7 separate regions of the Homo sapiens genome follow, and all the other regions are linked to region 4. The links are contacts of gene promoters, found by promoter capture Hi-C in blood cells and fetal thymus (Javierre and others, 2016). All regions are on one chromosome and are shown on one strand. The core of a region is centred on a gene start or on the middle of the fragment in contact, and the rest is flanking DNA. Distances in the headings are between cores, read along the strand shown.

Evidence for each region. Contacts are between HindIII fragments. The CHiCAGO score rates a contact against its expected background, and 5 or more counts as called.
Region 1: a contact is called between a fragment that was not itself captured here and the fragment with the promoter of FOXN3 in region 4, in 6 of 17 cell types (megakaryocytes, endothelial precursors, M1 macrophages and 3 more). The highest score is 7.7, in megakaryocytes.
Region 2: a fragment that was not itself captured here is called in contact with the fragment with the promoter of FOXN3 in region 4 in 15 of 17 cell types (naive CD4 T cells, naive B cells, total CD8 T cells and 12 more); the score reaches 18.4 in naive CD4 T cells.
Region 3: a contact is called between a fragment that was not itself captured here and the fragment with the promoter of FOXN3 in region 4, in 14 of 17 cell types (megakaryocytes, endothelial precursors, M1 macrophages and 11 more). The highest score is 17.8, in megakaryocytes.
Region 5: a fragment that was not itself captured here is called in contact with the fragment with the promoter of FOXN3 in region 4 in 1 of 17 cell types (M2 macrophages); the score reaches 5.4 in M2 macrophages.
Region 6: a contact is called between a fragment that was not itself captured here and the fragment with the promoter of FOXN3 in region 4, in 4 of 17 cell types (naive CD8 T cells, total B cells, neutrophils and 1 more). The highest score is 7.2, in naive CD8 T cells.
Region 7: a contact is called between a fragment that was not itself captured here and the fragment with the promoter of FOXN3 in region 4, in 9 of 17 cell types (activated CD4 T cells, total CD4 T cells, naive CD4 T cells and 6 more). The highest score is 12.8, in activated CD4 T cells.

What each region holds. Positions count from the first base shown.
Region 1 is chr14:89,889,043-89,893,072 of GRCh38, forward strand. All of the region lies in intron 5 of EFCAB11 (EF-hand calcium binding domain 11), which reads right to left. It also overlaps the pseudogene RAB42P1. Among named protein-coding and RNA genes, the nearest start is that of EFCAB11, 64 kb to the right of the region's middle. RefSeq lists an enhancer at 3,765-4,030. The HindIII fragment of the contact is 194 bases long and covers 1,170-1,363 here.
Region 2 is chr14:89,767,995-89,771,787 of GRCh38, forward strand. No RefSeq gene overlaps it. Among named protein-coding and RNA genes, the nearest start is that of EFCAB11, 180 kb to the right of the region's middle. RefSeq lists an enhancer at 248-297. The HindIII fragment of the contact is 1,077 bases long and covers 1,370-2,446 here.
Region 3 is chr14:89,914,980-89,918,874 of GRCh38, forward strand. The region is part of intron 5 of EFCAB11 (EF-hand calcium binding domain 11); the gene reads right to left. Among named protein-coding and RNA genes, the nearest start is that of EFCAB11, 38 kb to the right of the region's middle. The HindIII fragment of the contact is 4,035 bases long and covers 284-3,895 here.
Region 4 is chr14:89,415,887-89,419,526 of GRCh38, forward strand. FOXN3 (forkhead box N3) reads right to left here and starts at 1,347. Exons shown (of 6, transcript NM_005197.4): 1 at 985-1,347. It overlaps FOXN3-AS1 (FOXN3 antisense RNA 1), which reads left to right and starts at 1,468. Exons shown (of 2, transcript NR_036500.1): 1 at 1,468-1,910; 2 at 3,274-3,640. RefSeq lists enhancers at 199-493, 508-1,041, 1,042-1,574, 1,199-1,493 and silencers at 1,189-1,398, 1,439-1,728. The HindIII fragment of the contact is 2,355 bases long and covers 73-2,427 here.
Region 5 is chr14:89,018,647-89,022,357 of GRCh38, forward strand. The region is part of intron 1 of LOC124903356 (a long non-coding RNA gene); the gene reads left to right. Among named protein-coding and RNA genes, the nearest start is that of TRA-AGC15-1, 41 kb to the left of the region's middle. The HindIII fragment of the contact is 4,022 bases long and covers 1-3,711 here.
Region 6 is chr14:89,786,158-89,790,100 of GRCh38, forward strand. No RefSeq gene overlaps it. Among named protein-coding and RNA genes, the nearest start is that of EFCAB11, 170 kb to the right of the region's middle. The HindIII fragment of the contact is 1,944 bases long and covers 1,442-3,385 here.
Region 7 is chr14:89,748,365-89,752,316 of GRCh38, forward strand. No RefSeq gene overlaps it. Among named protein-coding and RNA genes, the nearest start is that of FOXN3-AS2, 170 kb to the left of the region's middle. The HindIII fragment of the contact is 4,117 bases long and covers 1-3,424 here.

The DNA.
Region 1 (4,030 bases), core at 17-2,516, 470 kb after region 4:
CAGAAGAAACACAGAGGCAGAGAAAAGCCTATGAGATCAGGAAGGGTTTGCATGATAATTAGAATGATTTTTCAAATCTGAAAATTAAGAGCCATGAAACAACACTGAAGATTAAAAGGGGCTGTATGAAGACAATTTCTTCCTTTTTTTGACAATTTATTTTAATCACCATTTTAAGGAAATGTATGGAACATCTTATTCATGAGGTGAGACAAAATGAAAGTAATTTTCAAAAAAACCCAAATAAAGTATTGGATAAAATCATGGATTCGAAGCCTTACTATGAATCCTGTTTTACTACTTATTAGCTGTGAAATATGAGACAAATTTTTTAACTTCTCTATCCCTCAGTTCCCCATCTATGAAATGGTGATTGTGAGGATGAAACGAGTAAAGGGCTTAGAACAGTGCTTGCCAAATGGTAAGTGCTTAAAAAACTTCAGCCACACCTCCACATGTAGAAAAAAGTTAAGACAGCAGACCTGACTGCAATTCTGCTTACAAGCCTGGCCCTTGACTGGCATCTGGGAACTTGGATTTCAGGAAGGTTCCTACCACCATTAACTGGTAAGAGTTGATCACTGTGCTTAAAACTGTTTGTGCAGACAACATGGCTCCCACTGAATACTTGCTTTCCTTCTGCGAGTCTGAAATTTTGGCACATGCCAGACAGAGAATGCCAGTGTGATCAGCCCACAATTAAACCCTGGGCACTGAGTCTCTACTGAGCTTCCCTGGTTGGCACATTTCACATGTTTGGTCACAGCTTACTATTGGGGAATTGTGTTCTCTGTGACTCCACTGGAGGGGAACAATGGGAAACTGGCATCTGGTTTCCCCTGGACTTCACCCCATGTACCCTTCCCGTGTGCTGGTTTTGCATTGAATCCTTTCACTGTAATAAATCATAGCCATGAATACGACTGTAGGCTGAGTCTTGGAAGTCCTTCTAGTGAATCATCAAATCTAGCGTTGGCCCTTGGGGACCCATCAACACACTTGGACACAGTTAATCAATTATTTTGTCGTAGGTATAAGTACTATAAAATGCACTTTTATAAATATTGAGTTCAAGTTCAAGAAAAGTGATTTTTAGATATAATACCTTGATAAAAACAGAAACACTGCATGATTTCTTCTCATAAATAATGAATGCAATAAAAATGTTAAGCTTCAATGACATGATCACTAAATTACATCAGTATTTCCTAATACTATGGTTTTAGGTTATACGAAAATAAATATTTAGCTTACAACTTCTAAATGATATTCAATATAAGAGCAATAAAAGGTCAGAAATACTTGGTCATATTCTTTAAACAGCAATAGAAGATAAAGTAAAGCTAAAATGCCAGAATTACTAAGCTTTAGAAATGCATTACTGATTTTATATATTTTCTATATCTCTTACAAATAAGTGATACTCTTTTCTAACACTTAATAATTCTTATTGTCTACCTAATAAATCAATATTTGGAAAGCAGAATTTAGAAGGAAAAGTTTGGGAGACAAAGTATTTAAGAATTCACATGAGTTTCTGTTTTTGGATACTCAGATCAACTCCCCACTGCAAAAAACTAAAGATGCTGGATAAGACACTAAAACAAAACCACCTTAAAAGGACTGAAAAATTAAAAAGAGCTGCCAGGCCAAATTCTTGAGGCTAGCTTGAACCCAAAGAGGTTAGTGGAAAGAAAGTTGGCATCCCAAAGCCACCTTTGCCCTGAAGGCATTCACTCACATCGTGCACTGGGGCTGCGGTCTGGTAGCCTCATGGGGAGACGAGGCCAGAAGTGAAGATCCAGGACTTTGCCAATTTGGATCATCTCACAGGATAACTTTCCCACATTAAGCTGAAATCCAAAGGACTACATGAAAGTTTCCCTGGTGCTGAGCAAAGGAGTAAGAGAAAAATGAAATAAAAAACGATCATTCACCCCTGAGAAGTTATGAGTGTTGACTGACCCTCACTGGGAGAGTCCCTGGGATCCTAGGTCTAAACATACCTTGAGTGAATACAGAAACTTCCATCTGTGGATTTGTTTTAATATAGTCCTGTACTGACTGTGCTACAAGGAGCCTGGCAAAAACACATAAACCACTCTGATTTCATCCTGGACTTGTGGAATTCCTCATAAATTATTTTTCAAGGTCGGTGAGCTCCAGAAAGTTGAATACAAACAAGTTTACAGGGAAACTAGTCACCATGAGCAAGAACCAGCAGAAGCAGACATAAATAGACTTCAACTAGAGGTTCTATGTTTAAAAATAAATAACTTGAAGTGACTTCAGGGAATAGAAAACTATAAGATGTAACAGAGGATTTTAATAAATGTTTATAACCTTTTAATACCTTTGTACTTTTAATTCATTAAAATTACTTAAGAGTTTGAGATATTATGGTAGAAATCAGAGTTTTTCAAAGTAGCAGAAAACAATGTATTGTCAGAAGCAAGAGGTTTCTGATTATGTTTATAATTAAAGTTATAAAATTTCCAAGGCAATATTTTATTTATATTAAAATAGCAAAATCTGTACCAAATATAAAAAGAGGGAATTCTCCCTAATTCACTGTATGAGGCCAGTATAAGCTTGAAATGAAACAAAACAAGAAAGGAAAATTACAGCTCCATTTTAGACACAAACACACACACACACACGCACGCGCACACGCACACACCACCCTAAGTAAAATATTAGCAAACTGAATCCTACTGTGCATTAAAAAGATAATAGGATAGGGACGCGGCCATGGAGGCCGAGGGCTGCCGCTACCAATTTCGGGTCGCGCTGCTGGGGGACGCGGCGGTGGGCAAGACGTCGCTGCTGCGGAGCTACGTGGCGGGCGCGCCTGGCGCCCCACAGCCCAAGCCCGAGCCCACGGTGGGCGCCGAGTGCTACCGCCGCGCGCTGCAGCTGCGGGCTGGGCCGCGGGTCAAGCTGCAGCTCTGGGACACCGCGGGCCACGAGCGCTTCAGCTGCATCACCGGGTCCTTTTACCGGAATGTGGTGGGTGTCCTGCTGGTCTTTGATGTGACAAACAGGAAGTCCTTTGAACACATCCAAGACTGGCACCAGGAGGTCATGGCCACTCAGGGCCCGGACAAGGTCATCTTCCTGCTGGTTGGCCACAAGAGTGACCTGCAGAGCACCCGCTGTGTCTCAGCCCAGGAGGCCGAGGAGCTAGCTGCCTCCCTGGGCATGGCCTTCGTGGAGACCTCTGTTAAAAACAACTGCAATGTGGACCTGGCCTTTGACGCCCTCACTGATGCTATCCAGCAGGCCCTGCAGCAGGGGGACATCAAGCTAGAAGAGGGCTTGGGGGGTGTCCGGCTCATCCACAAGACCCAAATCCCCAGGTCCCCCAGCAGGAAGCAGCACCCAGGCCCATGCCAGTGTTGACTCTAGGAGAGAAAGGGTTAAAGCAGTCCCAGCCTTAGCCCACCTGGTGGGATGGGGAATGTTAGTATCTCTCTGGAGGACAAATGACAGAAGGGTTCATATAAACAGTATCCTGACACAGTCATGCTTCCTGGATTTTAGAGTCAAGGGTTTCTACAGAAAAGAAAGGTCTGATGGCCAGGCATGGTGGCTCACGCCTGTAATCCTAGCATTTTCGGAGGCCAAGGACAGCGGATCACCTGAGGTCAGGAGTTCGAGACCAGCCTGGCCAACATGGTGAAACCCCGTCTCTACTAAAAATACAAAAATTAGCCAGGCGTGGTGGTGCATGCCTGTAATCCCAGTTACTCCGGAGGCTAAGGCAGGAGAATCGCTTGAACCCAGGAGGCAGAGATTGCAGTGAGCCAAGACTGTGCCACTGCACTCCAGCCTGGGCAACAGAGTGAGACTCTGTTTCAAAAAAAAAGAAAAGAAAAGAAAAGAAAGGCCTGAGAGCCCAGATGTGCAACTTCCTGTCCTTGAGCCTCAGTGTCCTTATCTATCGATGGGGCTCATAAAAGATCCCACCTTGCAGGGAGGTGGTGACCACGAATGAGATAGTGGACAGGATGTGCTCACCCAGAGCCTG
Region 2 (3,793 bases), core at 658-3,157, 350 kb after region 4:
ATCCTAAAACGCACAGGCCAGCCCTCAACAACAACAAATTACCTAGCCCCAAATGTCAAAAGGCCCAAGGTTAGGAAACTCTGGTCTAGACCACGGTTAAGCAAACTACTGCCCTCCTGGTTGGCTACCTGTTTTTATAAATAAAGTTTTATTAGAACACGGAGATGTCCATTCATTTCTATGTCATCTATGGCTGCTTTGACTTACAACGCAAGTGAGCAGTTGTAACAGAAACTGTGTGGTCACAAGTCCTAAAATAAATATGAGCCACATATGAAATTTCAAGTTTTTCTAGTAGCCACATTTTTTTAAAGTACAAAAAAAGCAGGGGAAATTAATGTTAGTAATATGCCCCAAATATTATCATTTCAACCTTGAATCAACATAAAAATTAATGAAATATTGTTATATTCTTTTATTTCCATATTAAGTCTTCACTTACAGCACTTCTCAATTCAGACTAGTCACATTTTTTTTTTTTTTTTTGAGACGGAGTTTTGCTCTCATTGCCCAGGCTAGAGTGCAGTGGCACAATCTCAGCTTACCACAACCTCCTCCTCTCAGGTTCAAGCGATTCTCCTGCCTCAGCCTCCCGAGTAGCTGGGATTACAGGCACGTGCCACCACGCCCGGCTAATTTTGTATTTTTAGTAGAGACTGGGTTTCTCCATGTTGGTCAGGCTGGTCTCGAATTCCGACCTTAGGTGGTCCACCCACCTCAGCCTCCCAAAGTGCTGGGATTATAGGCATGAGCCACTGTGCCTGGCCCAGACTAGTCACATTTTAAGTGCTCACGTTGCTGGTGGCTATTGTATTACACAATGCAGGTCTACACTGCATTTTTCACTAAACTGCTTTTTTAAATTATTTTACTTTTAATTTTATTTTATATATATTTTTGAGACGAAGTTTCACTCTTGTCACCCAGGCTGGAGGGCAGTGGCGCGATCTCGGCTCACCACAATCTCTGCCTCCTGGGTTCAAATGATTCTCCTGCCTCAGCCGCCCTAGCAGCTGGAACTACAGGTGCATACCACCACACCCGGCTAATTTTTTTTTTATTTTTAGTAAAGACAGGGTTTCACTACGTTGGCCAGGCTGGTCTCGAACTCCTGACCTCAAGTGGTCCCCCTGCCTCGGCTTCCCAAAGTGCTGGGATTATAGGTGTGAGCCACTGTGCCCTGCCACTAAAAAAAAAAAGTGCTGCTTTTTTTACTTAATGGAAATAAAAGTCTTCTCATGTCCACCATATATTTTTATATCTCTTTTAAAGCGTTCAACTTTTTTAAAAGATTCCAATTTTCTGGATGTTTATATTGCTTCTGAGTTTCACAATTATGAACGATTCTGCCACGAACATTCTTAGATAAAGCTTTTTCACCTCATCTGTAATTATTTCCTTAGGATAAACTCCCAGATGTGCGTCAAAGAGCAAAGAAACATTTTTAAGGGTTTTGAAATATATATATTTTTAAGAATAATACCTTCCCTACAAGATGATTACAAGAATTACGTTAGTACATGTAAATCAATTTTATTAATTCAAGTAAGGTCAATAAAACTTAAAATAGTAGGCTGGGCACAGTGGCTCACACCTGTAATCCCAGCACTTTGGGAGACAGAAGTGGGCAGATGACGAGGTCAGGAGATTGAGACCATCCTGGCTAACACGGTGAAACCCCGTCTCTATTAAAAATACAAAAAATTAGCCAGGTGTGGTGGCAGACGCCTGTAGTCCCAGCTACTCGGGAGGCTGAGGCAGGAGAATGGCATGAACCCAGGAGGCGGAGATTGCAGTGAGCCGAGATTGCGCCACCGCACTCCAGCCTGAGTGACAGAGCGAGACTCCCTCTAAAAAAAAACAAAACAAAAAAAAAACAAAAAAAACTTAAAATAGTAGAACCTGGCACATAAAGGCACTCTATAAATACCATCTATTATTGGTATCAGTATTGCTCCTGAATTTATCTCCAGCACTGTGGTTCTAATTATACTTCCACTAACAATGTCTAAGAATGCTTGTTTCTGGTATACTCTTTCTAATACTATTATTTTTATAGCCCTTGCAAATTTGATATACGAAATTGGCTTCTTGTTATTGTTGGTTTAATCTGACTGTAGTTCATTCATTTTCTTCGATTTAGGATGTTTTTCTTGGGTAGAGTTGTTACAAGCTCAGTCTATAGCCACATGTTTAAGGGTTGGACCATTTTTCACCAGAATGACCAGGACAATAAGTGACCATTTGTATCAGTCAGCTTTCACTAGGTTACATGTTGTAACAAGTGCTCCTAACATCTCAGTGGCTCACAATAACAAGTATGTATTTCTCACTCACATTGCATGTGACAGCCCAGGCTGAAAGAGCGGTGCCCATCGGGGACATGCCATTCCCATGGAAGAGGGAAAGGAATAAATGAGAAAGAAAGCAAGGGTGAAGCCTCCAAAGCTTCAGCTCCTACCCGCACAGACTCCCTTCCGCTTGCATCTCATTAGCCAGAGCAAGTCATGGTGCCAAGTCCAATATCAATGGAGCAGAGAAGTGTATTCCCACCATAAGAGACACTGCAAGCTACATAGCAATGTGTGGGAACTGAGATAGGGAGCAATCCACCAGTAAAATCGATGCAATTAACTAATTGTGTGCCTCTATTCGCCTCAAGTCAGGATTCCCCCTATATGATTCATTACAGTTCTCATAGAAATGATAAGCCCCATCCCCGCTAGCCACCGTGGGAACAGACAACAGATACTGAGCTGCTGTACTGCTTCCAATGGGCTCTAAAGACAAACTGGTCTGGAGAGACCCAGCCTAAACCAAACACGAGGACATCTCCCACTCCCTGCTTAAAGGGGCAAACTTGCCTATCAATGAAAAGAACTTTGTGCCTAAAGTCATCATTACATCACCGACAAGTAGGAAACAATAAATCTCTGATCTGATCTAACCGTCATCAAACAATCATCCATCATACACAGAGAGTGTAATGGTTCCTTAGAATAAAGAGGATGGGGTTTATACTGCAGTTGGCCTCACCTGTGAGATCAATAGTTGCTATCAGCAGCAGCAGTAGCATAGTCACCACCATCACCTCCAGCGCCTTTTAAGGTCAAGCCAGTTACCATACACCTGAACCCAGCCAACAGCACAGGATGTTTACAGATAAAAGGACCGACCCCTGTCCTAAAGAATTGAGCCCTTGGCTCTGCTAGCATGGCTGGTTGGAAAATTATTATGCTACTTGAATCCTCATAAAAATATATTCCTAAAATCCTAACACTAGACAGTTTTAGAATCAATAAATGTATATTAAAATTACAAGCTGTTCTACCCCAACCCTGAAAGAAACCATTCTAGAAACATGAAAAACAAAAAAGAGCAAGGCATGTTTCCTAAGGTAAGTCACTTCCTATTTGAATCATTTATTTATATAACAAGCCTTTCTGGACTGATTAAGGAAACTGCCAGTTACACTTACCAGCTGTTCCTCAGGTTGGGGAGAAGCATGGCGTTTTCCTCCTGCTTTACATGTGAGTGCCTGTGCTGGAGATTTTTGTCCTCGTATCCAAATTCTCTCCCTTTCTGTCAGTCTCTGGAAGGACTCGATGCTCAAAGAAAAACACTTCTCATCCTGAACCAGTGGCAAAGGGAAGAAAACCAACACGATCCTTTACATCCCCCTGGGCTGCTAGCTTCCTTGAGCCTTAGAAAATGATCAGGAATGAAAGTACGGTATTTTCTTCTTCATCCGTTTTTAAACTTTAGGTCTCCCAACGCCCAGCTCAAATCCTAC
Region 3 (3,895 bases), core at 1,051-3,550, 500 kb after region 4:
ACACACACAAAAAAGCAATGTTCCTGCTGTCACAGGAATATATTAATGGTTAAAAAAAAACACATAGTAATAATAACGCAAGTCAATATTTTTAAAGACCTAAATTCGACAATAAATATAGCCAGGAACATCACTCTTCTTCTCTGTACACATTATTATCATTTGCTCCTCCACTCTCCAGGCAAGCACACTAAAGGCTATTTCCAGGATGGAGTCAGATGTTACACAACTTTGCAATTTCCAATATGTGAATATTAACATAGACCAATGACATTATTACAGAAGCTTACTAGAAATATATTCTGCTGGTCACCAGAGGGATTAGCTTTGCTTCCTAACCTTAGAAAATGCGATAATTTGGGCATATGTTTTCAGTACAAATTTTTCAAAAACTACGAAAAATAACGCTTATTAAGAAAGGCTCCTGGTTAACCTTCTGTTCTTTCAATCAGTTTCTTAGCAGAGTTTTTGGCACCACCAACTGGTGAAAGAGGTGTACTGCAAAGGTGCTCGGCTCTCAATCTGTTTGGTTCATTAAGAGAGGATCATGCATTTATTTCATATTTAATTTACGGTGAATCAATTTATTTTAGTCACTAAATAAAATTAGAAATGCATTTCTTTGTCAGTCAAATAAATAATAATCCACTCTGGCTTTTTCACCTGAGAAGAAAGTATGTTTTGGTTAGTAAAGGTCATCAGAGAAAACTCAATCTACCCACCAAAGTTAATTTGATTTATTCTGCCATAAACTCACACTCAAAAAGCAAACACTGAGAACTACAATGAAAATTAGGAACTAAAAGAGAGAGCAAACTAAATGGTATCAAATACTATGCTAGCCTACAGTGTTTATATAAGACATTAATTTAACCGGAAATAAAAATGATTGAGGAGGTAATTTCACATTTGTTAAAAAATTGAACTTTTCCCACCAAGATTCCTGTCTCAAAGATGGATGCTGCCATTTGACATGTGAATATATATGCTATCTAGCCATCCTTCCTGTTTAATTGAGCCACACCTAGCAATGGATACCAGTATCAAGAGAGCAGAGCCAAGCCCTTAAGGCACAACTCCGATCTCTGCACAGTGAATCATGAAAATAAATACCCCTGAAGAACAGTCTAATTTTTCCCCCCAAAACAATTTGTGTTTTCTAGGGAGAATGGCTCAGAAAAAAAAAAAAGAAAAAAAGAAAAAAACAACAAATTTGTGGATACAAGTTGTCTATGAGAAGTACATCTAGCTACTTGTGATGATAAATTTGTAACCCACAGAATAAATGGCACCAACTCTATGACAAAACTGGTCATTGAAGAAACTTCTTTACTAGACAATGTGAAAGAGACAGAAAAAAGGAAAGAACCATCCAAAGAATCAAATTTGACTCTGATGGCAGGGTTTGGTTAAAAGCCATCTGACAGAGTTTAAAACTACTGTGACAATTTTGTGATAATAGCAGTTTAAATCGCTATACAAATGTGTACTCAATTCATATTTGTTAAAGCCTCCAAGTCTAAATCTCCAATTGAAAGCCTAGTAAAGAAGACCATTTGAAATAGGCCCAGAAAAAAGTAAGGGCCAGCAGCTGCTCTATCCAATTCAACACATAATTTGAACATGTAAACTTTGATCAGATTAATTCTATTCCTTCGTTCATTTCATTCATTTATTTGTTCATGTATTCGTCAAATACTCTCTCCTGCAAACAGAGTTAAATTTTTACAAGGAGAGAACAAGAGTGAGACCCTCCTGCCCCTTCCTCTCCTTGGACAAGAGTCTTGATATCCCACGGCAAGGATTTCTAATTGAAGTCATGACTGGATTATGAGGAATCCTAACAATAAGACTTGGGTTAAGAAAAGCATTTTTAAACTTTTATTTGTTTCTTATATCCTTTAACATGACTCATGTCATGAGTCTCACTAAGTCTGTGTAGACATTTTTTGAGGTATGACTGACAAAAAATTGTCTATATTTAAGGTATACAAGATGACGTTTTTATAAAAGTATACTTTGTGTAATGACTCACAGTCAAGCTAATTAGCATATCCATCACCTGACATGCTTCGTGTGTGTGTGTGTGTGTGTGTGTGTGTGTGTGTGTGTGTGTGTATGTGTGTGTTGAAAACACTTAAGATCTGCTCCCTTGGCAAATCTGAAGTACACAACACATTAACTATAGTTACCATGCTGTACACTAGATCACTAGAATTCATTCACCCTGTAACTAAAATTTTGTATCCTCTGACCGACATCTCCCCATCTTCCCCACTTCCCAGCCCCTGGCAACTACCATTCCACTCTTTTTCTCCAAGTTTGACTAGTTTAGATGTCACATATAAGTAATATCATGCAATATTTGTCTTTCTGTGTCTGGCTTCTTTCACTTAGCATAATGTCCCCAGATTCCTCCATGCTGTTGCAAATGGCAGGATTTCCTTCTTTTTTAAGGCTGAATAATATTCTGCTGTACACACATACCACAATTTCTTTATCCATTCATCCAGTGGTGGGCACTTAATATGGGTTTCCATATCTCGGCTATTGTGAATAATGCTGCAATTAACATGGGAGTGCAGACATTTTATTCTACCTGTAAATTCAGTCTACTCCATCATTATCATTACTAGGCAGTGGCATTTCTAAACAAGAAAATAACATTTTGAGGTTATGAAAACACTTGACCATTAACAAGTACCAGCAACATGATTATAATCAAATAAAAAATTCTGATTGCCCTAGGGGCTTGGTTCTGTGACTTCTTTGACCAAAAAAATAATAATAATTGCGAATTAGTTGTTTGGTTTGAATTGAGCAATAAAGGACTCTCAGCTTTAACTGTAAAATGGATAGAAATGCCGTTGATGTGGAGAGTCACTGTAAGGACTAAGTAAGGCAACACGTAGTTGGTAATCAATGAACGGGAAGCACTGTGACTGCAGTGGACAATACAGTGCAATGAAAGCTGGGGAAGAGCGAGAATCGAGGACTGGCTCTCCAGGCAGGGTGTGAATGCTGTGAGAAGCTGGCAACAATGAACCCTGAGAAAAAGGACAGGGGACAACTGGAGGTACTTAGTTGGGGAGAGCAGCTTTCTAGGATGGATATGAGTATATCTTCAGGCAGGGATAGGCATTATAAACAGAAGTGGGAATGGCTGATGGAGAAATGTCTTAGATCAAAAAAAGGGGAAGAGAGAAGACCAGAACAAAAGAGAGGAATTAGGAAAAAAAGAAGAGACCCCTTTTCCTCAGAAATAAAATTAAAGGAAGGCTGGGCGTGGTGGCTCACGCCTGTAATCCCAGCACTTTAGGAGGCCAAGGCAGGTGGATCACCTGAGGTCAGGAGTTCCACACCAGCCTGACCAACATGGTGAAACCCCATCTCTACTAAAAATACAAAAATTAGCCGGGCATGGTAGCACACGTCTGTAATCCCAGCTACTTGGGAGGCTGAGGCAGGAGAATCGCTTGAACCCAGGAGGTGGAGGTTGCAGTGAGCCGAGATCACACCACTGCACTCCAGCCTGGGCAACAGAGCGAGACTCCATCTCAAAAAAAAAAAAAGAAGAAGAAGAAGAAAGAAAATTAAAGGAATACAGAAAAGAGATGAAGAGAAGGCAGTAAACCCAGGAAGAGGCCATGATCCTCTCCATGAAGAAAAAGGCAAGATCACCTGCAAAGCACAGTAGTGGGAAAGGTTTGGTACAACCATCACAGAGAATACATCCTTACAGAGAGAGCAAGAGATTTGATCTCATATGACAACTCTAATGAGCTGGCTTGGGGTATTGTACTGAGAAGAACTCTGAGTTCTGCAGAAGAGGGCAGCCACAGGTACAGGAGGGGTCAGTGGCAGGCATGTCAACTACGTGCCATCCCTATAACAG
Region 4 (3,640 bases), core at 97-2,596:
CTTTTGTTTTTTTTATGACTTGCTGTGTTTTGTTACCCTCTTTATTTTTTAACGGAGAAAATGCGGCAAGAAAGCTTAGTTTCTCGCCTAGTAAACAGAAGGTCTCCAAATAACTGACAAAGACATTACTGGCCCAGCTCTGAACAGATGTTCGATGCGAACTTTAAAAAGTTAAGAAATCTTCCCAGAGCCGAGCAGTAGCGAGTTTGGGGGGCCGGGTCACCCCCGCCCACCCAGCACGCGCGCGCGCGCACGCACGCGCTTCACTCTCGTCTACTGTACTTGTCAAAAACATTTCAAGGGGACCTGCGGGAGTGGCGATTGGCTGCACCCCGCGTCAATCAGCGGCGTTGCCGGGCAACGGGGGAAACTGCTCTTATCCCCATATACAGGGCAATTGGGAGCTCGCATACCTTCACTGCCGGTCAGATGTCATAAACCTTTTATTGGCCGCACCGCGGCGAGCCTCGAAAACAAATCAATAAAAGCCCGCCGTCCCCCAACTTATCCAGGGCCCAAGGAGGGTTTCAAACAGGGCCGGGATGAGGGGGGTCGGGCCTCGGGGGTCTCCGGAGACGTTCGTTGCCTGTGCCAAGTCTGCACAGTTTGGCCGGGGGGTGATCTTTGTTAGGAGCCTGTTTCTCATCTTGGGGTCTCCACTTGATCGGAACCCCCTCCCCGGCCCGGAACGGCGGGGACCCCGTCCTCCGCAGACAATACCAACTCTGTTCCTTGCGGGCGTCTTTTCGGAAACCGAGGCACCGGGAAGCAGCACGCACGTCGGGGCAGGAAACTCTTCGGACCCGGCAACTTCCCGGCTCGGGGGCTCCCGGGGTCCACACCCGACCCTCCCCCCAGGACCTGCGGGGTCCCTCGTCTTCCCAGAGCGGCGAGGTAGTCTCCAGGACCGTCTCGGACGCGCCTCCCGCCCCGGGTGCCCCCCGAGCCCACGCGGGAGCCGGCAGGAGCGGGGTGCAAACTCACCTGGCCGGAGCGGGGCACGGGGGTGCGGGGGCGCCGCTGCCCTTCAGCAGGAGCCGACAAACTTTCGCGGGCGCCCGGCGGGCATCGCTCGGTGGCCCCGCTAAGGACGCGCGGGCGCGGCGCGGCGAGCCCGGGGCGGCGGGCGGCGGGGGGCGGCCGCGGGCGCGGGCGGCAGGGGCGCGGGGGTCGCGGCGCGGCATGGGACCTGCGGCGTCCGCCGGGCGCGCCGCGCGTCCTCCCGCCGGCCCCGCCGCTCTCCCCGCCCCGTCCCGCCTCCCGCTCGCCTCCGCCGCGGCGCGTCGGGCCGGGGCGCGCCGAGCGGCGAGAAATTGTTTCCACTGCAAACAAAAAAAGGCGACACATGACCAGGCAGGAGGAGGGGAAGCGCGGGGAGGGAGGAGGGCGGAGGGAGGGACAGAGCGGAGGGCGGAGGGAGCCGGAGAAAGGGAAAACGTGGGCCTGGCCGCCAGCGGCCTGGGGCGCGGGGCACTGACCCGCCGGGGCGGACCCTGCCCGCGCCCCTCGCGCGCCCCAGCACTCAGCCAGGGCGGAGGCCGGGGCTGGGCCGCGCGGCCTCGCCTCTTGGGCCCCGCGGGGCGGGGGTGACCGGCGCGGGTCCCGCGACCCAGGGCGGCCGCGACCGTGGGCGGTGGGGCAGGTGGGTCAGGCGGCGCGTGCCCTGTCCCCTCCCCGGGCTCCGGCCACACGAGCGGGCCGGCGCTGCGCTGCTGGCAACGTGTCGCGGGAACGCTCCTACCCCATCTGCATGCCTTACATGGCTCGAAAGTAAAAATAAAAAGAATTACGATGCGGGCGAGGCTTGTGGGGGTGAGAAGAGGAGATTCCACGTCTCCCCAGTGCTGCGTCCTGATAGGACCCCCAGGGCCTTCCGAGCCCTCTCCCAGCGACCACCTCGTGTCCCGGAGGTAAGCACCGCAGCGTCCCACCCAGGTGGCCGCGTGTCTCCCGAGGGAGGGCCGGTGGCCATTACAAGACAAGAGGCACCGTCCTAAAGGCCACGCCGGTGGGGCCTCTCAAGTGGGTTGTGCGGAACGCCCCGGCCGGCCTAGAGAGAAAACAGGTCTCATTTCCATCTCAGTTTGAGCTCTCAGGAACCAGACTGACAATTCGCAAGCCACCCAGCGAAATGGTGCAGCCACCACTCTAAGTCTCTAGGCACCTCCAAATAATAGCACCCACTGCTAAAGCCACACCAACCAGCCGCCTTGGGAGAGGATGAGAGGAGAGAGTCCAACAGGACACCCTGGTGGTGACAAAAATAAAAATGTGATTGCACATTACTCCCAGGTAGCCAAATTGGTTGGTTCCTCTACAGAGGAGAAGCCCAGGGCACCCTTCCTGCCACCCCCTCCTGAGCCAGTGGACAGGACATCGTGAGCGGTCTGAAAACTACAGAAAAAAACAGCGAGTAGACCTGGAGAAAGCTTTCTAGCATGCAGTACTTTTAAACCTAGCCAAAAGGAGGGACTAAGGGAAACACCAGTTAGGCTTCTGAAAATTTTTTCTGTCTCAAAAAATAGACCCCCCCCCCCCAATCTGAGAGTCATTCCCCCTAACAAAGGTTCAAGAGGGCAGGTGACAAGTCTTCAGCAAAGATGTGCCTTTCAGACTCACCGGAGACCTTACTACTTCCAAGTTGTGTGGCATCTCCCCATCTGGAGACAATTAGGAGGTGGAAGCCCAGGGGTAGCCTGAGGTCATCCAGCCCCACCCCTTTGATTACTGAGCACTTGATGCGACCTACCCAAAGTCACTAAGCAAAAGGCACAAGGTGGCAGAGACAAGTCAGATGATCTTTGAAGTCTCACGCCAGAGATTCTCAGGGTTAGAAGTGGTAACAAAGCCAGGATGAGACAATGTGTACCCTGCTTTCCTGTAGCTCCGGCTAATGCAGGTCCTGCCCCTCCATCAGCGCGTCAGTTGAGGGTGCTTATTCTCCGCCAGAGGAACCAAGGCCAGAGACCTTTGTCCAAGCCCTTGCTGGCCTAGAGAGGACGAAGTCGCCCCCTTACATCTTCCTCTTCCATCCCCAGCCCCCAACCCCACCCCCAAGTCCCCCAGCTACACTCACACAATAGCCAGAAATCTCTTTATATTAAGTAGAGGTGGCACCTTATTTTCACCGGCCCCAGTCCCCTCCTGCTTTCTCAGAGTTCAAAAAGAGGGGATGTGAGCCAAAGGTGATTGTACATGGAATATGTCATTCCATGTGTGTTTTTGCTTCTTGCATTCTCAAACATATTTCTTAATTTCTCTCTCCCATTACAGTTGCAGCAAGAGATGTGAGAAGGTGTCACCCTGAAGAGGAAGTGGTGGACCAGCCCTGCCTGATGTGGACAGCAGGGGACACATGTCTGCCTGTCGGTCTATCTGAAATGGGGGAAAAAATGCTGAAAGCCAAAGGAGGGCTTAATGTGGCCTTTTCCACCTTCTAATTCCATAGAACCTCAGCTCTGGGACTTGCTTCCTGACCTAGGGTGCAGGGGCCAAATTTGTTTGGGAACAACCCCATTCACAATTCCCCATGAACTTTCAGAAAGGACCCTTGCGTCTTAGGTCCTGAGAAGTCACAAATAAGCAAGCTGCATTGTCTAATGTCTTGTCTACACTGTTTTACAAACACATTTAACAGCCG
Region 5 (3,711 bases), core at 688-3,187, 400 kb before region 4:
TTGGTGACAATGGTTAACTGAGAAACTACCAGACTTTTCCAAAGTGGCTGCACCATTTATTTATTTATTTATTTGAAGTAGAGTCTTGCTCTTTCCTCCAGGATGGAGTACAGTGGTGCAATCTCAGCTCACTGGAACCTCCGCCTCCTGGGTTTAAGCCATTCTCCTGCCTCAGCCTCCTGAGTAGCTGGGACTACAGGTGCGTGCGACCACACCTGGCTAATTTTTGTGTTTTTAATAGAGATGGGGTTTCGTCATGTTGATCAGGCTGGTCTTGAACTCCTGACTTCAGGTAATTCACCCTCCTCAGTCTCCCAAAGCTCTGAGATTACAGGCGTGAGCCACCGCGCCTCGCCAGCTGCACCATTTTACATTCCTGCCCGCAGTGTATGATAATTCCAATTTCTCTACATCTTTTCCAACACTTTTTATTGTCTGATTTTTTTTATTATAGCCATCCTGTGAATGTGAAGTATTATCTCATTGTAGTTTAATTTGCATTTCCCTGATGATAAATGATGGTAATATATTTTTGCCTGTTGGTCATTTGTGTATCTTCTTTGGAGAAAGTTCTCTTCAGAAACTTTGCCCATTTTTAAGTTGAATTGTCTTTTTATTACTTAGTTGTAAGAGTTTTTAAAATATATTTTAGACACAAGTGCCTTACTGATATATTATTTGTAAATATTTTCTCCCATTCTGTGTGTTGTCTTTACACTTTCTTGATGGTATCCTTTTAATCATGAATATTAATTTTGACAAAGCCCAAACAATCTCCTTTTCTGTTTGTTGCTGTGCTTTTGGTATCATAATTAAGGAATCATTTTAAAATAAAAATCACAGTGGTTTGCCTTCTAAGATTAAAGTTTTATTTCTCACAGTTAGGTCTGTGATCCATTTTGAGTTCATGTTTATATGTAATGTGAGGCAAGGGTCCAGATTCATTCTTTTGCATGTGGACTTCCAGTTGTCCCAGCACTATTCGTTGAAAAGAATACTCTTTCCCCATTGAATTTTCTAGGCACTCATCTTGAAAATCAATTGACCATGCATGTGAGAGTTTATTTCTGGACCCTCAATTCCATTCCACTGATCTGTCTGTCCGTCCTCATATAGACAGTACCACATGTTCTTGATCACTGCAGAATTGTAGTTAGCTCTAAAATCAGAGAATGTGAGTCCTCCAATGTCGTTCTTCTTTTTCAAGATTGTGTTGGCTGTTCTCAGTCCCTTACACTTCCTTAAGAATTTTAGTATCAGCTTGTCAATATCTGCAAAAAGACATCTGAGATTTTAATAGGGAATGTGTTCAATCTGTAGATCAGTTTAGGGAATATTGCTATCTGAGTAATATTAACTCTTCTAATCCATGAACATGGGATATTCTTCTATTTATTTAGACCTTCAATTTCTTCCAACAATGATTTTTAGATTTTTAGTCTTTTGGATATAAGGTTTGCTTTTTTTTTTTTTTTTTTTTTTTTTTTTTTTTTTTTTTTTTTTTGAGACAGTGTCTTACTCTGTCTCCCAGGCTGGAGTGCAGTGGTGCCATCTCGGCTCATGGCAACCTCTGCCTCCTGGGTTCAAGCGATCCTCCCACCTCAGCTTCCTGAGTAGCTGGGACTACAGGTGTGTGCTACCACACCTTGCTAATTTTTGTCTTTTTAGTAGAGACAGAGTTTTGCCATGTTGGCCAGGCTGGTCTCGAACTCCTGGCCTCAAGTGATCCACCCACCTCAGCCTCCCAAAGTGCTGGGATTACAGGCGTGAGCCACCTTGCCCAACCTACTTCTTTCATTTATTTTTGAGTATTTTATTCCTTTTTACACTATTGAAATGGAATTGTTTTCTCAATTTTATTTTCATTGTTCAATGCTAGTATATGGAAATACAATTGATTTTTGTATATTGATTTTGTACTCTGAAACTTTGCTGAACTTGTTTGTTCTAATAAATTTTTAGTGGATTCCTTAGGATTATCTGTATACAAGGTCATTACATATGTTTCTTCTTTGTTTCCAATCTGGATACCTTTTATTTCTTTTTCTTACCTAATTGCCCTGGCTAGAACTCAAATACAATGTTGAATAGGAGTGGCAAAAGTGGACATCCCTCTCCTGTTCCTGGTCTTAAGGGGAAAGCAGTCTTTCACTATTACGTATGATGTTAGCTGTGGGGTTTTCATAGATATCTTTTAAAGGGTTGAGAAAGTTCCTTCCTATCCCTAGTTTTTTTTTTTTTTTTTTAGCATTTTTATCATAAAAGGATGTTGAATTTTGTCAAATGCTTCTTCAGTAGAAATAACAGTGTAATTTCCTAACAATCTCTCCAGTGTTTTGCTTGGAGTAAAAAGTCTTGGGGCCACTTCACTAATTTTAGCATTAGCCCCAAGCAAGGAACACCTAAGATCTGCCAAGTCACTGGCTTTGGGACATCTAAGAGCAGAGGAGCACCCCTTTCCCACACACCTTTTACTCCAGCTGGCCTTCCACTTAGACCCCAGTTGAACTGTCCTATTCAAGGGCTGATTCCTATGACCATGGATAATCAAGTCCTGGGAGATCAAGAGTTGAATTTTCATGGCAATCAGATCAGATTCTTTCTTTGCCTTTTGGGGGATGGTTTTTTCTCATCTTGACCATAATTTTCCTCTAATTTCTACTCATGGGCATTTGAACTTGGGCATAAGACATACATATACTGAACTCAATTGTTTTGTAAGTGTTTCACAGGTTTTTATTTTGCCTAGGTAGTCAAGGAGTAATTTTTTTTTTCTTTGAGACAGGGTCTCACTCTGTCTCCCTGGCTGGAGTGCAATGGCTCAATCTCAGCTCACTGCAACCTCCACCTACTGGGCTTAAGTGATCCTCCCCACTTAGCCTCCTAAGTAGCTAGGACCACAGGTGCACACCACCACACCTGGCAATATTTTTGTATTTTTTTGTAGAAATGGGGTTTCACCCATCACTCTGAGCAAACTATCACAAGGACAGAAAACCAAACACCGCATGTTCTCACTCATAGGTGGGAATTGAACAATGGGAACACTTGGACACAGGAAGGGGAACATCACACACTGGGGCCTGTCGTGGAGTGGGGGGAGTGGGGAGGGATAGCATTAGGAGATATACCTAATGTAAACGATGAGTTAATGGGTGCAGCACACCAACATGGCACATGTATACATATGTAACAAAGCTGCATGTTGTGCACATGTACCCTAGAACTTAAAGTATAAAAAAAAAAGAAGTGGGGTTTCATTATATTGCCCAAGCTGGTCTCAAACTCCTGAGCTCAAGTGATCTGCCTGCCTTGGCCCCCGACGTGCTGGGATTACAGGTGCGAGCCACCATGCCCAGCTGAATAAATTCTCTGAGGGCAGAAACCACACCTTTGAGCCTTTCACAGAACCAGGTAAACTATTTGTCACAAAGAACAGACTTGATAAAGACACTTTACGACTAATCTCAACCTTTTAGCAAAACTGTCACATGTGACGTGCTATCCGGCCTGTACACCACCACATTTCCTATGTTTGGAGGATGCTGAGCAGGAGAGAATGACACAAACACATTCATGAGAGAAGAAACTGAAACACAGAGCCCAGGGGCCACCCAGATCCCTGGTTTCAGCTGTCCCTGTGTGGCTTTATGGCTTCCACAACACAACAGGAGGGTCTAAATGAGTAAATTGAACATGGTACTGAAAGAA
Region 6 (3,943 bases), core at 1,164-3,663, 370 kb after region 4:
AAATTTTAAGTTTTATTTAATTGTGTTAAAAATTAAAATTAAATAATGACATGCACTGTTGGCTACCGCATTGGACAGCACAGCCTCAGACTGATCAACAGATTTACTTGGCGATTCTAATTTAAAATACAAGTTGGCTTAGATTTACGATTTTAAGTTGAAATCCAAGCTTACAAATAGTGTTGGAACATTCAAGAGAACTAAGACAATAGATTACAGAGTTTAATTTACTATTCTTAAAAACTTGTTGAAATACATGGGAAGATGTCTTTGTTCATTGAAGAACCAAAGGTCTTAAAAGAGAATTGATTGAAAGATTTGAAAGATTCAGAATAAGTCCTCTGGCCACAGTGAAATTAGCTAGAAATCACCAAAGAAAACTAGAATACCCACAATTTTTGAAAATTTAACATTTCATTTCTGAACAGCGCATGTGTCAAAGAAGCAATCACAACAGAAATTAGAAAATATGTTTTATGATAATTATAAAGAAGATAAAATGTATAAAAACTTTTGAGATGCAGCTAAAGCAGTACTCACTGGAAATTTATAACCTTAAATATATATATTAGAAAACAAATACTGGAAGTCAATGATCTTAATTTCTCAAGCAGCTAAAAAACAAAGAGCAAAAAAGGAGGGAAATAATAAAGAGCAGAAATAATGAAACAGAAAACAAACAGAAAAGCAACAAGACCAAAAGTTGGCGTTTTGAAAAGGTTAATAAAATTGATAAATTCCTAAAAAGATCAATCAACTAAAGTGTGATGGTTAATATTAAGTGTCAACTTGATTGGATTGAAGGATGCAAAGTATTGTTCCTGGGTGTGTCTGTGAGGGTGTTGCCAAAGGAGATTAACATTTGAGTCAGTGGACTGGGAGAGGCAGACCCACCCTCAACGTGGTGGGCACCATCCAATCAACTGCCAGTGCGGCTGGAATAAAGCAGGCAGAAGAAGGTGGGGGAAGCCGACTTGCTGAGTCTTCTTGGCCTCCATCTTTCTTCCGTGCTGGATGCTTCCTGCCCTCCTTGGAACATCAGACTCCAAGTTCTTCAGCTTTTTCACCAGTGGCTCTCGGGCCTTTGGCCACAAACTGAAGGCTGCACTGTAAATTTCCCTACTTTTGAGGTTTTGGTACTTGGACTGAGCCACGACCAGCTTCCTTGCTCCTCAATTTGCAGACGGCCTATCGTGGGACTTCACCTTGTGATCATGTGGATCAATTCTCCTTAATAAACTCCCTTTCGTATATACATATATCCTATTAGTCCTGTCCCTATAGAGAACCCTGACTAATTCAGAAAGATAACTGAATATATATTTTATACATGCAGGTAAAATGTATGGAAATGTAACAGAATTATGAAAGCCACCTTAGAGTGATTCATACAACTTTCCAGATTTATAAATAGAAGAATAGGATCTGTCTATATAGTAAAAGCTTAAAGGAAGAATTAGGCTTGTTAACCATTACAGCTTTAATGTAGAAAACATGTACTTTGTAAAATCAAATTAGTCCCTGAGTAATCTCACAATGACCATGCTGGTTTTCCGAGGCTGTGACTCAGTGCCAAGCTGAGGCCAAGCCACCAGGACTGCAGAGAGAACAGGGGGAGGGCTCCTCCCAGTATGCGGGTGTGCGCCACTCATTAGCAGCCCTTTCGAGACCTGCTGCAGGGTGAATCTAGGAACTACACCTTATGGGTGCATGGCACCTTACAGTTTTCTCAGCACTGTGAGAAATTACCAAGTTCAAAAGAAGTAGAAAGGCCTTTGTTTTCAATAGGTCCAAAGCTAAGGGATTTCTTTCCTTGAAACGTATATTGAAAGCAATATAATAGAAAGCTGGAGACTTTCTTTTTTTGAATGTTTTCAAAATGCAATTCAAACATACTTGAAACTATATGAGGTCTCTTCTTGGTCAGAAACCAATCCGAGTCATAGAAGAGGCTGTGAACACACTTCCCTACGGCAAAGGCCTGACCCTACTAGGGAGGCCATCGTTGAGGCTGCAGTCAGAGGGTCCCAAAAAGGTGCCGTAGGTGGCCGGGCGCGGTGGCGCACGCCTGTAATCCCAGCACTTTGGGAGGCCGAGGAGGGCGGATCGCCTGAGCTCAGGAGTTCAGGACCAGCCTGGGCAACATGATGAAACCCCATCTCTGCTAAAAATACAGAATTAGCTGGGCGCGGTGGCGCACGCCTGTAATCCCAGCACTTTCGGAGGCCGAGGAGGGCGGATCGCCTGAGCTCAGGAGTTCAGGACCAGCCTGGGCAACACGATGAAACCCCATCTCCGCTAAAAATACAGAATTAGCTGGGCGTGGTGGAGCATGCCTGTAATCCCAGCTACTCAGGAGGCTGAGGCAGGAGAATCGCTTGAACCCAGGAGGCAGAGGTTGCGGTGAGCCGAGATCGCGCCACTGCGCTCCAGCCTGGGCAGGAGAAGCAAAACTCCATGTCCCAGACAAAAAAAAAAAAAAAGTGCCGCAAGTGGTGCTCTACACGGGTTTTTTGCTAAGTATTCCATAACATTATTCCGAAAAGTTATGTACTCCTTTTTCCATATTTTTAATTGATACCTTAAACTTTTATTATAAATTTAAATAGTGGAAAGGTATAGAAGATCCACCATAAAGTAAGATCTGTTTTTTTTGTTTTTGTTTTTTTTTGAGACGGAGTTTCGCTTTTGTTGCCCAGGCTGGAGTGCAGTGGCATGATCTCGGCTCATCGCAACCTCTGCCTCCCGGGTTCAAGTGATTCTCCTGCCTCAGCCTCCCGAGTAGCTGGGACTACAGGCATGCACCACCACACCTAGCTGATTTTTTGTATTTTTAGTAGAGACGGGGGTTTCTCCATGTTGGTCAGGCTGGTCTTGAACTCCTGACCTCAGATGATCCGTCCGCCTCGGCCTCCCGAAGTGCTGGGATTACAGGCGTGAGCCACTGCGCCCGGCCAGATCTGAATTTTTTTAAAAATAAACTTTTTACTTTAGAACAGTTTTAGGTTTATAGAAAAATTAAGATAGTATAGAAATTAATACATATCACGCACTCAGTTTTCCGTATTATGAACATTGTATGTGTATGATACCTTTGCTGCAATTAATGAGCTAATGCTGGTACATTATTAATTAAAGTTCATACCTTATTCAGATTTCCTAGGTTTCCCACAGTGTCCTTTTCCTGTTCTAGGATCCCATCTAGGCTATTGCATTACATTTAGTCCCCATGGCTCCAGAGGTTCCTCTTGGAGTTTCTTAGGCTTTCTTTGGTTTTGATGGGCTGGATAGTTTTGAGGAGGATTGGTCAGGTATTTTGTAGAAGATCCATTCACTTCTTAAGAACATATCTCGGTTGCTTCTAGGTTTTGGTGATGATGAAGAAAGCTTCTATAAACATTCATATGCAAGTTTTTGTGTGGATGGAATTTTCAAACCAGTTGGGTAAATACCTAGAAGCTTGATTGAGGGGTCATGTGGTAAGACTATGTTTAGCTTTGTAAGAAACTGCCAAACTGTCTTCCAAAGCGGCTGTACCATTTTACATTGCCCCTAGAAACAAATGAGAGTAGAAATTATCCAACTGAAACAGGGAGAGAAAGGAGGAAGGGGAGGAAGAGCATGAAGATGTGGTGGAGAAGAATAGACAATGAGAGATGTGTCAGATAATATTATTGATATAAAGTATGTACAACTGGAGTTTGAGAAGGCCATTCTCTTCAAGATTGTGGTAAATGGAGTATTTGAAGAAATCATGGCCCAGAGATTTCTATGTTTGATGAAAGACATAAAGTGTTCTGGAATTTTGGTTTCAATTTGTAGTAAGGGGGAAAAATCTGCTCATAGAAGTTTGAATGTCAGCCAAGGAGCAGGTCAGATCGAATGAACCTTAGATGGTCCAATATATGCAATTCTAGGAATTAAGGAAGGAAAGAAGAAAGGG
Region 7 (3,952 bases), core at 116-2,615, 330 kb after region 4:
TGTCTGCATGAATACATATGCATACACACGTGAGTTTGGAGATATATATATTTTCATGTTCTCTATGATTACCTAAGACGTTATCTCAGAATAGTGGCTTACAACAACTACAATCATTTCTTCTCGTGTCACACAGTTCTAGAAGTTGACTGAGTTCAGCTAGGTGGTTCTCGCTCTGGGACTGGCCATGGTTGCAGTCAACATGTAGGGAGAATTAGAATTTTTTTTTTTTTTTCCTGAGATGGAATTTCACTCTTGTTGCCCAGTCTGGAGTGCAGTGGCGTGATCTCGGCTCACTGCAACCTCCGCCTCCCAGGTTCAAGCAATTCTCCTGCCTCAGCCTCCCGAGTAGCTGGGATTATAGGCTTGCGCCACCACGCCTGGCTAATTTTTTGTATTTTTAGTAGAGACAGGGTTTCTTCATGTTGGCCAGGATGGTCTCAAACTCCTGACCTCGTGATCCACCCGTCTTGGCCTCCCAAAGTGCTGGGATCACAGGCATGAGCCACCGCACCTGGCTGCTAGAATCATTTTAAAGGCCTCTTCATACACCTGTCTGGGGCCTGGACTGGGAAGACCCAAACAGTTGCAGGCTAGAGCATGAAGACAGGCGACTCCTTGGGCATCTCTCTCTATTTCTGTTTGGTCTCTCCATTTGGTTGTTCCACTACGGTGGCTTCAGGGTATCTGGACACTTACACGGTGGCTGGTGACTCAGGGCTCCAAAGGCATGTGTCCCAGGAAAGAGACATGCTATGCTCTAACATAATCACATGCTTCCCATCACCTTTGCTGTCTGCCGCTGATTAGAAGCACATCACAGGTCCCACCCGCCCTTGTGGGGAAGAGCATGACACAAGCTGTGAATACGAAGAGGCAGGGATCATGGCGGCCTCCTTAAAGTCTATCTGCCACACTTAGTAGAATTTAGCAATGTTGCCCCAGGTCACGTAGCTAGTGAGCAGCACAAACAGGATTTGACCCCACGCAGTCTCACTCCAGAGTCCCCATTCTCGAATGGTACCCTATAGGGCCACTCAGTATGAGTGACTATTTTTCAATAGTTCTCATTTTCATTTTAAATGAATACATTCTCCTCTGTGTCCTCAGTTAGTAAGAGACTACACTACTCCCGCCACACTGGCAGAATCATGCTTCTGGGTCTACAGAGCTGAAGACCAGACTCTGACACATGGCGACTTCATGCAGGTAATGCCGTACCCATCAACAAAGTTCCCTGCTGGCACCTGTTCCATGATCGTCCCCTCGAGTCACAAGAATATACCTAACATATTTGTACAAACTGAAAAAGAGATCTTGTCAGAAGACTATGCATTTCTTTAGAACATCATCAGGCCAGAAGCCCATGGGCAGGAACAAATGGGTAGTGGAAAAATGGAAAACAAGTGGGAGAAAGTTCTGTAGATGCTGGGACTTCAGCTTTGGAAAGGCCCCTGGCCACAGCTGATTTTCTGCAAGGCAACCGGCTGAAAAAATACATCTCTGCAAAAATAAAGAAAAGCCTAACCGAGTGCAGCCGCCATCCTCCCAGTAATGAGATTTGGAGGATTACTGCTGAGATGAATGGAAGATATCGTATGGTCACTGCTAGAAATGTTTGCCACCCCGGTCTAACTACACGAGTAGACACTAGAGTTCTTAGCAGGCCCACATATGTTTGATTTTAATTAAAACGTGCTGAATGAACTGTTAGCAGCACTGAAATAATGAAGAAAAGCAACGTAAGACAAATCGGCTAATAGACAACTCCAAACATTCTATTTTATACCCTTCAGTTATGTTAATGGAGGTTTCCAATATGTTCTAGCTGAAATAATCATTACACAAACACAGTTACATAATAATCTAAGGGGTAGATGAAAATATAAATAACTGCAGCAGCAAAAACCACAAATGGGTCAAAGGATTACAAATTCATTTTCTCAGTCTTTATTCGAAAACAATTTAGTGAGTGCTTATTGGTTATTATGTGCCAGGCACTCATGGGCTAATGCCTATGATGAAATCATCCTAGTGTTTCCAAATATACACTTTTGTTTAAGATAGCATGTTCTATGAGTACCAGGGTGCTGTGTAGAGTATATCTCCAACCACATGATGAAACAAAACAGCAAGCGACTCTTGAAAGGGAGAGACCATCATTTTAAGTCATTTCAAAAGCTAGTTCATATGAAGGCAGAGACTCTGGCCAAGATCTTAACAAATTACATTTTATTCAGTGCACAAGAAATTAGCACAGCTGCCTGAAGGAAAATATGTCCTGGGATTGTGTACACAGTGCAAGGCCAAAGGGCAGCCATATTCCAAGTAGACCGTAAACAGGAGGTTTATTGGAGGCCTTTCCAAAGAACGCGACCAAATTTCAGCCGTGAGATAACCAGAATTCCAGCCAAAATTGGGAGTGATGGAAACTGTCAAATGTCTTTGGATCTTTTGTGGAGATTAATCCCTTGGCTGTCCAGTCTCTGATGAATGAAGGAGAATAATTCAGAGTCACTGAACACCCTTGCTCTTAACTGGAGAGGCAGGATATCAACGAGGTAAGTGAACGCCAATGCATTTAGAGTTTATTTACAACTAAACTGCTAAAGCCTCAACTCATCCATATTCAATTAGAGAAAGTTGTGGTTCATCCAAGACAAGACGTGAGCCAAAATTTGGGGCGAGGGTGACATCATCTGAAAGGGCTGGAAATAAAGTGTAAATTTGAGTATCATCTGTATATAAGTGATAATTAAAGCTGTGCAACTCAACACGTGCCAAGAGAGAAGGTCAATAAAAATGAAGAACAACAGGGTCCCAAACCACATGTTACTTCTAAAATGAAGATTTATTTTTTTTAAGGTGGTGAGGGTGAGCTTTTCTTTCCTGCTGCATAATCTCAAAACAGATACAGATCACCTGCAAGGAAGACTCATTTCTGCAGAAAGTCACTGAATTACTTGAACATTGAGCTAAGGAGAGGGGCTTTTCTGTGTGATCTATATTGCAAGGAAGTAAGAAGTCATTCCATTTAGTTTGGGGAAGACCTCCCCAACCCCCTAAAATAGATCACTTTAGTAAATAATATCTAAGAGAACCACCAATTCAAGCTGATACTTGATTGTCCTTTTCAAGTCTGGTGTTAAATTTGGGCAGGAAACACAAGTTGCTTTTATCTGGGTGCTCGATAATTTCATTCATGCAGTGAAGAAATAGGTTCTTTATTCTCAGCTGTGTTTGAACACTTTAACAATGGGATAACTGAAGTAAGATGCAGCTTAAATCAAATGAAATGGAGACTTGCCCACAAGGACTTATTCATTATAAAAAAGGGCAGCTCTTGTCCTAATCGTTCCTCTAGAGATCTATGACTTAGGGCTCTTTTTATTTTTGACTACCAGCTACCTTTCCAAATCATGGAAGCTTTCTAAAAATACCAAGTTCCTCAGTAGCTGGAGCTGAGCAGGGAGTGAGCCTAACCATAAATGATGGGTGTTATGGGTTTAAATTGTTTCCCTCTCAAAATCATGTGTTGAAATTCTAACCCCCAGTGCCTCAGAAGGTGACCATATTTGGAGACAGTGTCATTAGAGAGGCAATTAAGTTAAAATGGGGTCACAAGGATGGACCCTAATGCAATATGGCTGGTGTCTGTATAAAAAGAGGAAATTAGAACAGACATGTACAGAGGAAGGACCATATGCAGACACAGGGATATGACGGCCATCTACAAGCCAAAGAGGGAGGTCTCAGAAGAAGCCAATCCTGCCAACATCTTGAACTCAGACTTCCATCCTACAGAATTGTGAGGAAGTAAATTTCTGTTGTTGAAGCCACCCAATCTACAGTACTTTGTTATGGCCACCCCAGAAAACTAACACGATGGGGCAAAAGGAGTAGAGCCAGGGCCGGGCGTGGTAGCTCATGCCTGTAATCCCAGCACTTTGGG